Regions from separate parts of the Homo sapiens genome. Here region 1 is linked to region 2. Evidence: promoter capture Hi-C in 16 types of primary human blood cells and fetal thymus (Javierre and others, 2016). All regions are on one chromosome and are shown on one strand. The core of a region is centred on a gene start or on the middle of the fragment in contact, and the rest is flanking DNA. Distances in the headings are between cores, read along the strand shown.

Evidence for each region. Contacts are between HindIII fragments. The CHiCAGO score rates a contact against its expected background, and 5 or more counts as called.
Region 1: a contact is called between a fragment that was not itself captured here and the fragment with the promoter of PEX11G in region 2, in 10 of 17 cell types (megakaryocytes, naive CD4 T cells, naive B cells and 7 more). The highest score is 6.4, in megakaryocytes.

The regions. Positions count from the first base shown.
Region 1 is chr19:7,142,557-7,148,480 of GRCh38, reverse strand. It overlaps INSR (insulin receptor), which reads left to right. Exons shown (of 22, transcript NM_000208.4): 12 at 5,391-5,665. Among named protein-coding and RNA genes, the nearest start is that of ZNF557, 76 kb to the right of the region's middle. The HindIII fragment of the contact is 1,821 bases long and covers 1,429-3,249 here.
Region 2 is chr19:7,486,843-7,492,162 of GRCh38, reverse strand. It overlaps PEX11G (peroxisomal biogenesis factor 11 gamma), which reads left to right and starts at 3,128. Exons shown (of 5, transcript NM_080662.4): 1 at 3,128-3,212. The coding sequence starts at 3,153. RefSeq lists silencers at 2,942-3,271, 3,322-3,381. The HindIII fragment of the contact is 16,201 bases long and covers 1-5,320 here.

The DNA.
Region 1 (5,924 bases), core at 1,090-3,589, 340 kb after region 2:
AAAGAATAAATACATAATACTAATAATAATAATAAATAATATTTGGGGTCAGATTATTCTAGGGCACTGTCCAACAACACTGAGAAGCATCCCTGGCTTCCACTCATCTGATGCCAGTAGTGTGTCTTCCCCCTAAAGTAGTAATAACCAAAAATATCTTCAGACATTGCTAAATATCCCCCTGGGTGATGGGGTCAGAAGGACCCTTGGTTGAGATGACCAGGTTAGTGTGGGATTGCTGGATAATAAAATGCTGCCTAGGCCAGGTGCTGTGGCTCATGCCTGATGCCTGTAATCCCAGCACTTTGGGAGGCCCAGGCAGGCAGATCACCTGAGGTCAAGAGTTTGAAACCAGCCTGGGCAACATGGCGAAACCCCGTCTCTACTAAAAATACAAAAATTAGCCGGGCATGATGATGCACGCCTGTAATCCCAGCTACTTGGGAGGCTGAGGCAGGAGAATCGCTTGAACCCAGAAATTGGAAGTTACAGTGAGCCAAGATCACACCACTGCACTCCAGCCTGGGCAACAGAGCAAGACTCTGTCTCAAAAAAAAAAATCAGTTGATGCTTTGTCTTTTGCCACTTCATGGTCTTTTTGGTTATAATCTTTTTGGTATATAAACTCATTTGGCCTGTTTGATGAGCCCATTTTACATCTCTGGTTGTTGAGATACCAATTTCTCAGTAGTTACTCATGAAGCACCAACGTCTTGGTTATTTTCACGAGACCCATTTGTGCCTGTATAGAAATTATCTGAATCTTGCTAATACGGACATATCTTTGGCTTGATAAGTGGTGGAGCTGTTTTCTTTTCCATTCTACAATGTTGTTAGTCTTTTAATACAAAAAGACCATAAAGAGAATCTTAAGAAATGCCCCCAAAGTAGGATTTGTTTTCTGACCACACATTTTCTGATGACGCTGCAATAGAAACTAAAAGTTAATTTCAAAAGATTAAACAGAAAACTTCACTTCTTGGTGGTTAAAAGTTAAACACTTACAGGCTGGGCGCAGTGACTCACACCTGTAATCGCAGCACTTTGGGAGGCCCAGGCAGGCGGATCACCTGAGGTCAGGAGTTTGAGACCAGCCTGGCCAATATGGTGAAACCCCTTCTCTACTAAAAATACAAAAATTAGCCAGATGTGGTAACGTGCGCCTGTAGTCCCAGCTACTCAGGAGACTGAGGCAGAAGAATCACTTGAACCTGGGAGGTGGAGGTTGCAGTGAGCCGAGATCACGCCACTGCCCTCCAGCCTGGGCAACAGAGCGAGACTCTGTCTAAAAAAAAAAAAAGTTAAAAAGTTAAACACTTACATATCTATCGGGCCAAAGCAGAAATGGAAACTTCCATTGAAGTCCTTTTGGAAAATAATGAAAATGTGAATATCACATACCTTAACTTGTAGAATATTGTCAAAGCTTGGCTTTGATGTTACTTAGCAGACTTAAATGGATTGATAAATTAAGAAATAAACTTTAAACTATAAAACTATAAATGTGTTAGGAAGGGAAAAGCAATAACAGCTAAGCCTATGGTAAACATAATCAAAGGGAAAACACAAACCAGAAGGAAAGAAGATGACATAAAACTAGCGTCTGAAGAAAATTTTAATGTGTTAAGTTCTTTGGACAATGGTGCACTTGCTAAATTTGAAAGTTTCAGTAAGGTGGGAAAATTTAACTTGTCTAAATGGATTCAAAAAGAAGCAGAAAAATTAAGTGGTTATGAACCTTGGAAAAAGATATGTGTCAAATAATTTCCTCAAAAAAGTCCCTTGGCCCAGAGAGTTTTATAGACACGTTCTTTCAAATTGTGAGAGAGCAACTATTTCCTATAATAGAAAAACTATTTTAGGGCACAGAAATCTATAAAAGTTATCCCAGTTCATTTTATGAAATGAACATAACACCCTTAAAGAACTTGACAAAGAGGTTGAGCATGGTGGCTCATGCCTGTAATCCCAGTACTTTGGGAGGCTGAGGTGGGGGGCGGATCACAAGGTCAAGAGATTGAGAACATTCTGGTCAACATGGTGAAACACTGTCTCTACTAACAATACAAAAATTAGCCAGACATGGTGGCACACGCCTGTAATCCCAGCTACTTGGGAGGCTGAGCCAGGAGAATCGCTTGAACCTGGGAGGCAGAGGTTGCAGTGAACCGAGGTTGCGCCATTGCACACTCCAGCCTGGCAACAGAGCAAAACTCTGTCTCAAAAAAAAAAAAAAAAAAAAAAGAACTTGACAAAGATACTGCACTGAACAAAAGCCACAGGCCAAGCTAATATGTGATGTTAGATTCAAATGTCCCAAATAAAACACTGCACTGGCAATATTGTTTATCTCCAAAATGCAAGGATGGTTTAAGATCAGAAGATTTGATAACATCATCTAGTTCATCAAGAGGTGCAATAAGGAAGATCATATCTGTTTCAATAACCTTAATTTAAAATTCCTAACTTAGAGAAAGGGGAGGAAAAAAAGAGGCTTCATAAAACTCATAATAGAATATTTCTTCTACAAGATAAATATTACCTAGGTTAAACCAACAGCCAAGCTAACATCATTCTTAAAATTATTCTTAGCAGAGTTAGGAACAAAACAAGGAAGCCCCATCTCATCATTACTAATTAACATTTCTCTGGGCATCCAGCCAATGTAATAAGACAAGAAACAGAAATCAGAGTTGTAAAGAATGGAATGTGGGAAATAAAGTCATTGCTATTTGCAGAGCGTCTAGCTCAAGGGTAGGCAAACTATGGCCCATGGGCTAGCTGCCTGTTTTTGTAAATGAACTCTTATTGGAATGCAACCCCACCCACTTGTTTACACATCATGTAGGGCTGCTTTAAGCTACAATGACAGAGTAGTTGTGACAGAGGTCATTTGGCTTGCAAAACCCAAAATATTTATTATCTAGCCCTTTACGGGAAAATTTTGTTGACCCCTCTTCTAGTGTGTCATTGAAAACCCAGGAAAGCCAATTATGAAACTTTTTAAATGAGTTAGAGTTTGGGAAAGTAGGTACATAGAAATAAGCAAAAAGACTGTAGATACACAAGCAATAATTAGAATATAAAATAAGGGAAAAGATCCCTTTCAAAATTGCCGTAAAACCTTAGCACAACTCATAATAACCCCATCTAGAATGACTTATAAAGGAACACGTTTTAAAGTGTTACTGATATATTAAATTGTACAAATAAACATGAAAGCCTGTTTCAAATCATTTAAAGAAAGCTTACTGGCAAATGGAAAAGAGTAAGTTGTATAGCACGATACATAAAAGGTTAATATCCTTAATGAATAAACAACACAGGAGTAAGGAAAACACAAGAAATTCATGGAAAAACAGACAAAAGACAAGGAGGGGACAATTCTTTGGAGAATCACAGAGAACCAATAAAGGAAAAATGAAGTCACACTCAGTAATATAAAGATCCGCAAATAACGTAGTCGAGTGATAGCATATTTTTAATCTCTTGGGTTAAAGATCTAGACAAACAAACATAGAAAGAAAAAAAAAAACTATTAAGGCTTAGGGGTTGCTGAGATTGTCCTGGAATGCAGTCTCATGGCCTGCTGGTGCAACCACAAGTCAATATAGAGTTTCTGGACAACCATTTAGCTGTAGGTATTAAGAAGCTTAAAGAGTTTCTTATCTCCCTGAACCTAGTAATATTTTCCTCTAGGAATCTACTTTGGGGAAGTAATAAGACAATCAGACAATGATCAAAGGAATATTTATAACAGCAAAAAAAAAAAAAAAGAGCCATGTGCGGTGGCTCATGCCTGTAATCCTGGCACTTTGGGAGGCTGAGGTGGGCAGATCACCTGAGGTCAGGAGTTTGAGACCAGCCTGGCCAACATGGCGAAACTCCGTCTCTACTAAAAATACAAAAATTAGCTGGGCATGGTGGCGGACTCCTGTAATCCCAGCTACTCAGGAGGCTGAGGCAGGAGAATCGCATGAACTCAGGAGGCGGAGGTTGCAGTGAGCCAAGATCACGCCGTCGCACTCCAGCCTGGGCGACAAGAGTGAAACTCTGTCTCAAAATAAATAAATAAATAAGGAGGATGGTTAAGTGAGTGACGACTCACGTAGCAAATGGAATATTTTACAGTCATTCATCGTTTTCCAAGTTTTCTGCAGGGAACACATGCTACTTTTGTAGATGATGGAGGAAAACCCTAATATTAAAAAGGAAAAGTCCCAAAATTCTCTCCTAAAATGTTATGTTGAAAGGAAAATATTTAGTAAATGCTTCCAATATAATAAGTAGACAAAGTTTACTTATAAAACAGGCTTGATCCTCATCATGTTCACACATAATATTTACAGGGAAAAAATTGTCCAAAGGAAGCAGTGGGCTGTGGATTTATGAGTGATTTATATTTTCTTTTCTTTTTTTTTTTTTTGAGACAGAGTCTCACTCTGTCGCCCAGGCTGGAGTGCAGTGACACGATCTCAGCTCACTGCAACCTCCGCCTCCCGGGTTCAAGCAATTCTCTTGCCTCAGCCTCCTGAGTAGCTGGGATTAAAGCTGTGCACCATCAGGCTCGGCTAATTTTTGTATTTTTAGTAGAGACGGGGTTTCCCCATGTTGGCCAGACTGGTCTTGAACTCCTAACCTCAGGTTATCTGCCCGCCTTGGCCTCCCAAAGTACTGGGATTATAGGCATGAGCCACCTCGCCCAGCCTACATTTTCTTCTTTATCCTTTTTTCTTTGTATTTTAAAATTTGTTAGCTATCAACCTTTGTTGTTTAATATGTCTTCTTAAGGGATGGGGAGAAGTGTGCCAATTGCATAGATGTTTCTTGGAGTTAATCTTCCTGACCTGAGTGATGTGATTCCTTTTCTAAGAATTGCAGCTTAATCACTCAAATTATACAGGTGCCCTAAGCAGCAATAAGAAGGAAAAGATGTATTTTTTCCTATTTAAACTGATGATGTCGATCAGTAGCTTGGGCCAATGAGCAAATGCCATTTGGCAGGGCTTCCTGAAAAGCTAGACTCTTACGTGCTTTTGGTGTCTTATTTTTGTCACTGACCCTGGCTGGCCTATTTATCTGCAAAATGAAAAACCTGAAATCGAGCATGTCGAGGGGAATATCGGTGTGTGTCTACCATTGACGGTCTTAGAAGCACTCATCCCTCACGAGGTGGGCCTGCTCTAATCCTTCAGATGCTCACAAGGGTATATTGAAAGCTGCTCTGAGTGGTCATTCCTGGCAGTCTGTATTGTAATCCATGTTCCCCATTGCTGCACCCTCCTGCGCTCTGATCTTTCTTCTTAATCAAGCCTTTTATTCTCCAGTGTCACTTTTTTAAAAAAAATGATGGTGATGGTGTCATCATACATGTCCTACTGTCGTTCCAGGCCATCTCGGAAACGCAGGTCCCTTGGCGATGTTGGGAATGTGACGGTGGCCGTGCCCACGGTGGCAGCTTTCCCCAACACTTCCTCGACCAGCGTGCCCACGAGTCCGGAGGAGCACAGGCCTTTTGAGAAGGTGGTGAACAAGGAGTCGCTGGTCATCTCCGGCTTGCGACACTTCACGGGCTATCGCATCGAGCTGCAGGCTTGCAACCAGGACACCCCTGAGGAACGGTGCAGTGTGGCAGCCTACGTCAGTGCGAGGACCATGCCTGAAGGTAGGGCTGCTGCTCCGGGGTCCGAGTGTCATGGGTGGGACATCAAGGCTGACCAAGGACAGATTCTCCACCCTCTAAGCAGTGCATATCTGTATTTTACCTTATTGGCCTTCATTTTTGTTTGAGACGGAGCCTTGCTCTGTCGCCCAGGCTGGAGTACAGTGGTGCGACCTCAGCTCACTCCAGCCTCTGCCACCTATGTCAAGTGATTCCCTGCTTCAGCCTCCCAAGTAGCTGGGACTACAGGTGTCTGCCACCA
Region 2 (5,320 bases), core at 1,879-4,378:
AGGGACTCCAACTACATATTCACAAATGTTTATAGCTGTACTTATTCACGATCGCTAAAAGGCAGAAACAGCCCAAATGACCATCAGCTGATACGTGGATAAACAAAATGTGGTCCATCCATATGGCGCAATGTTATATAGCTGCAAGTGGAATGAATTTCTGATACATGCTGCAACTTAGACAAACCTCAACACCATTATGCTCAGCTGCACGCAGTGGCTCACACCTGTAATCCCAGCACTTTGGGAGGCCAAGGCAGGAGGATCCCTTGAGTCCAGGAGGTCGAAACCAGCCTGGTGAACATAGCGAGACCGCATCTCTACAAAAGAAAAATTTTAAAAATTGGCCAGATGTGGTGGCGTGCACCTGTAGTCCCAGGCAATGTGGAGGCTGAGGCAGGAGGATCTCTCAGGCCCAGGAGTTCAAGGCTGCAGTGAGCTATGATCACACCACCGCACTCCAGCCTGGTGACACAGCAAGACCCTGTCTCAAAAACAAAAAGCAAAAACCAAAACAACCTATTATGCTTGGTGGAAGAGGCCGACACAAATGGTCACATATTGTATGATTCCATTTGTATGAAATATCAAGGAGGTCGGGCATGGTGGCTCATGCCTGTAATCCCAGCACTTTGGGAGGTCGAGGCAGGCAGATCCCTTGAGGTCAAGAGTTCAAGACCAGCCTGGCCAACATGGTAAAATCCATCTCTACTACAAATACAAAAATTAGCCGGGTGTGGTGGTGCGCACCTGTACTCTCAGCCACTTGGGAGGCCGAGGCAGGAGAATTGCTTGAACTTGGGAGGCGGAGGCTGCCGTGAGCTGAGATCATGCCACTGCACTCCAGTCTGGGTGACAGAGTGAGACTCTGTCTCAAAAAAAAAAAAAAAAAAAAAAAATCAAGAAGTGGTAAAAATACAGAGAGACAGCAGAGAATGCAGATTAGTGGTTGCCAGGGGCTGGGAGGAGGGAGGAATTGAGTGATTGCTTTATGGGAACAGGGTGTAGGGGAGGAAACATACTTTTTCCTTTATTCTTAGTTCTTAGCTGTGATGGATCCTTGCAATGAAAGAATTAAGAAGGGCGGGTGCGGTGGTTCACGCCTGTAATTCCAGCACTTTGGAAGGTCGACGTGGGAAGATTGCTTAAGCCCAGGGCTCAAGGCCAGCCTGGGTAACATGGTAAGACTCCATTTCTACAAAAAATAAAAAATAAAAAGAAATTAGCCAATTGTGGTGGCAGGCACCTGTGGTCCCACCTACTCAGGATGCTGAGGTGGCAGGATGGCTTGATCCCAGGAGTTCAAGGCTGCAGTGAGTTAAGATCGTGCCGCTGCACTCTACCCCTTTTTTGTGGGTAGTTGGTCAAGCTACCATGGGGCAGAATGTAGCAAGCTCTGGGCATCATCCTGGGTCCTCAGGCCCAGAGAGCACACAAGTGGCGGCTTCACATCTACAAATTTGGTTCCTCCCAGAGCGAGGCCCTGTCTCAAAAAAAAAAAAAAAAAAAAAAAAAAAAAATAGAGGCCAGGCGCGGTGGCTCACGCCTGTAATCCTAGCACTTTGGGAGGCAGAGACGGGCGGATCACGAGGTCAGGAGATCAAGACCATCCTGGCTAACACGGTGAAACCCCGTCTCTACTAAAAATACAAAAAAAAAAAAAAAAAAAAAATTACCCAGGCGTGGTGGCGGGCGCCTGTAGTAGTGCCAGCTACTCGGGAGGCTGAGGCAGAAGAATGGCGTGAACCCGCGAGGCGGAGCTTGCAGTGAGCCGAGATCGTGCCACTGCACTCCAGCCTGGGCGACAGAGCGAGGCTCCGTCTAAAAAAAAAAAATTAACAAGGGAAAAACAAATTTATTAACATGTGTACCTTATGTGTACATGGGAGATGCCAAGAGAAATGAGGTGGCTTATATAGCTTATATAACTCCTGCTTATATAGCACCTTCAACATATAGCAGCAAATTTTTGGAGAAGTGACAAGACGAAGGAAAAGGACATTGAGGCCGGGTGCGGTGGCTCACGCTTGTAATCCCAGCACTTTGGGAGGCCGAGGCGGGCGGATCACTTGAGGCCAGGAATTTGAGAACAGCCTGGCCAACGTGGTGAAACCCCGACTCTACCAAAAATACAAAAATTAGCCGGGCACAGTGGTGCACAGCTGTGATCCCAGCTACTTGGGAAGCTGAGGCACGAGAATCGCTTGAACCAGGGAAGCGGAGGACGCAGTGAGCAGAGATGGCGCTACTGCACTCTAGCTTTGGGGACAGAGCAAGACTCCGTCTCAAAAAAAAAGAAAAAAAAAAAAAAGACGTCTCCAGACAAGAGTCTAAAGGTGTCCCTGGTGATCAACCTTTGTCCTTCCTGGTAGAGAGGGGAGGAGGGCACCTTTGTACCTTTAGGTCCTGCTTTGAGGCAAATCAGGGAAGAACAGAGAGCTTTTCCGGTATCAGCTTCATTGATCTCAGCTCAAAATAATCCTACACCAAGGTCGCATATTTCAGAGGGGCATATGCTGGTCTCCTACGGGGGTCTCTCTTGGGGGTGATAAAAATACCCCGAAACTAGCAAGGGGTGATGGTTGTCCAACATGTGCATGTACTAATGTCACTGAATTGTGCATTTTTATTTTTTATTTATGTATTCTAGAACAATTCTTAACGTCCAAAGATAACGTCTTTCCTTAACGTCGAAAGATGCCTTGTTGTGATATTACAGCAGTCATTCCTGCTCACTACGGGCAGGCAGACAGTGCAGAAAAGGTGAAGCACAAAAACTAAAAAGGAAAATCTCTCCTTGAACCACTGCGAACAGGTTGGTGGTTTTGCTTGGAATATTTTTGGAGCGTGTGGGTAGTTGGTTAAACTTAGAAATATATTTTTTTGTGCGTGGGTAGTTGGCCAAACCGCCGTGGGGCAGAATGCAGCAAACTCCGAGGATGATCCAGGGTCTGCAGGCCTGGAGAGCACACACGTGTCGGCCCCACCTCTGCAAACTCTGTCCCTCCCCTACAGCGGACAAAAAGCCGGTCAGGGGGACAAAGGCCTGCGGCCGCGCCTGCGCGCAAGCCTTTGGGGCGCTCCCGGTACCCCGGCCTGGCCCCGCCCCCTGGCGCGGCGCGCCGACGTCGCGGTGACGTCACGGAGTTGCCATGGCGTCGCTGAGCGGCCTGGCGTCGGCGCTGGAGTCGTACAGGGGCCGGGACCGCCTGGTGAGGCAGGGGCGGACCGGGGCCGGAGGTCCTAGAGTTTGGCCCAAGCTCAGAGACTGGGAAACGGGCCAGAGAGGGGACGGGGTCGCCCAGGATACTCCGTCGCAGAGGCCCCGTCCGAGCTAGGCTCAAATGCGGTGCCCTAGCATTGGACATTTATGTATTTATTTATTTTGGCTGGAGTGCAGTGGTGCGATCTCTGCTCACTGCAGCCTCCGCTTCCCGGGTTCAAGCGATTCTCCTGCCTCAGCACTCCCGAGTAGCTGGGACTACAGGCGCCCGCCACCACTCCCTGCTATTTTTTTGTATTTTTAGTAGAGACGGAGTTTCATCGTGTTAGCCAGGATGGTCTCGATCTCCTGGCCTCAAGCGATCCACCTGCCTCGGCCTCCCAAAGTGCTGGGATTACAGGCGTGAGCCACCGCGTCTGGCCAGCGTTGGACATTTAGATAGTTTCTGCCAACCCAACCTGTCTGGACATTGACACACTGGCCAGATTCCCGTGTTTGGACGTTTTGGATCCGACCAGGCCACTGAAGTTGTCCTGAACAATCTCGTGTTGGGATTTGGGATGTTGCAGGGCTCCCCTGTGGCTGGACATTCACTTCCAACCAGATTCCCTATAGTTGGGCATTTAGGTTGTTTCAGCCAACCTAGACCAAAGAACACGCCATGGCCTGGGCCCTGCCATGCCTAAGCAGCGATGGGTTCCAACAAAACCCCAGTTGGTCATTTAGATCGTCTCTGCCAACCCAGCCTGGCTGGACGTTTACATACCAAACAGATTCCCATGTTTGGACATTTAGGATCTGACCGGGCCACTGTAGTTGGTCCCTGGGTTGTCCCAAACAATCTCATGTGGGGATTTAGGATATTGCAAGACTCTCCCTATGGCTGGACAGTTTTTAGTTCCAATCAAGTCCCATATGGTTGAACATTTAGGTTATGCCATCCATGCCCCTGAGTCTGGACTCTTAGCTTGTCCCCACCAGTCTCTTATAGGTAGACATTCAGGTTGTACCAGGCGGTGTACTGGTGGCTAGGCATTTAGATTCCATTCAAATATCTTATGATTGGGGGGGTGGGTTAACAAATCTCCCCCGAGTTGAACATTCAGATTGCAGTGTTTTGCCATTATAATGGGGCTGGAAAGGAATTACAAGTAAAAATAAATAAAACAACAGGAACAAGCAATTTCTGAAAAGCAGGTAAAATAAAGATATAAGGGAGGCCAGGCGTGGTGGCTCGCGCCTGTGATCCTAGCACTTTGGGAGGCTGAGCTGGGTGGATTGTCTGAGCTCAGGAGTTTGAGACCAGCCTGGGAAAAGTGATGAAACCTCGTCTCTACTAAAATACAAAAATTAGCCGGATGTGGTGGTGCGTGCCTGTAGTCCCAGCTACTTGGAAGGCTGAGGCGGGAGAATTGCTTGAACCTGGGATGCAGAGGTTGCAGTGAGCTCACACCTTTGCACTCGAGCCTGGGGAGCAGAGCAAGACTCTGTCTCCAAAAGAAAAAAGATCTGAGTAGTGAAGATGACCTATTTCAGAAGGCTCCACATCACCTACTGAGTAGGTTCTTTCTCTCTAAAGTAATTCTACCAAATTATCCTGTTGTTCACTGGGTTGAGGCCTGATCACCTGTGCCCACCATTCAGCACATCCAAAGGCTTTGGTCCAGGCAGGTAGATGTAAATATACACTTTAGCTGTGGCTTCCTGCCACCTGGGAAAAGAAGGACCTAGGAGGTGGGAAGTAAGGAGCTTTGTTTTCTTTGTTCCTGTCACATCTGTTCCCAAAGGCTGTGCCCTTCAGTTACATCAATGATGTCATGTTTCTTCATTTGTCCCACCTCCAAGTATGTTTTTAAACTTCCAGCTTTTTTTTTCTTTTTCTTTTTCTTTTTTTAGACAGGGTCTCGCCCTGTTGCCCAGGCTGGAGTGTAGTAGCACGATTACAGCTCACTACAGTCTGGAACTCCTGGGCTCAAGTGATCCTCCAGCATCAGCCTCCCAAGTAACCACCATGCCCTGTTAACTTAAAAAAATTTTTGGTAGCCAGGCGCGGTGGCTTACGCCTGTAATCCCAGCACTTTGGGAGGCCGAGGCGGG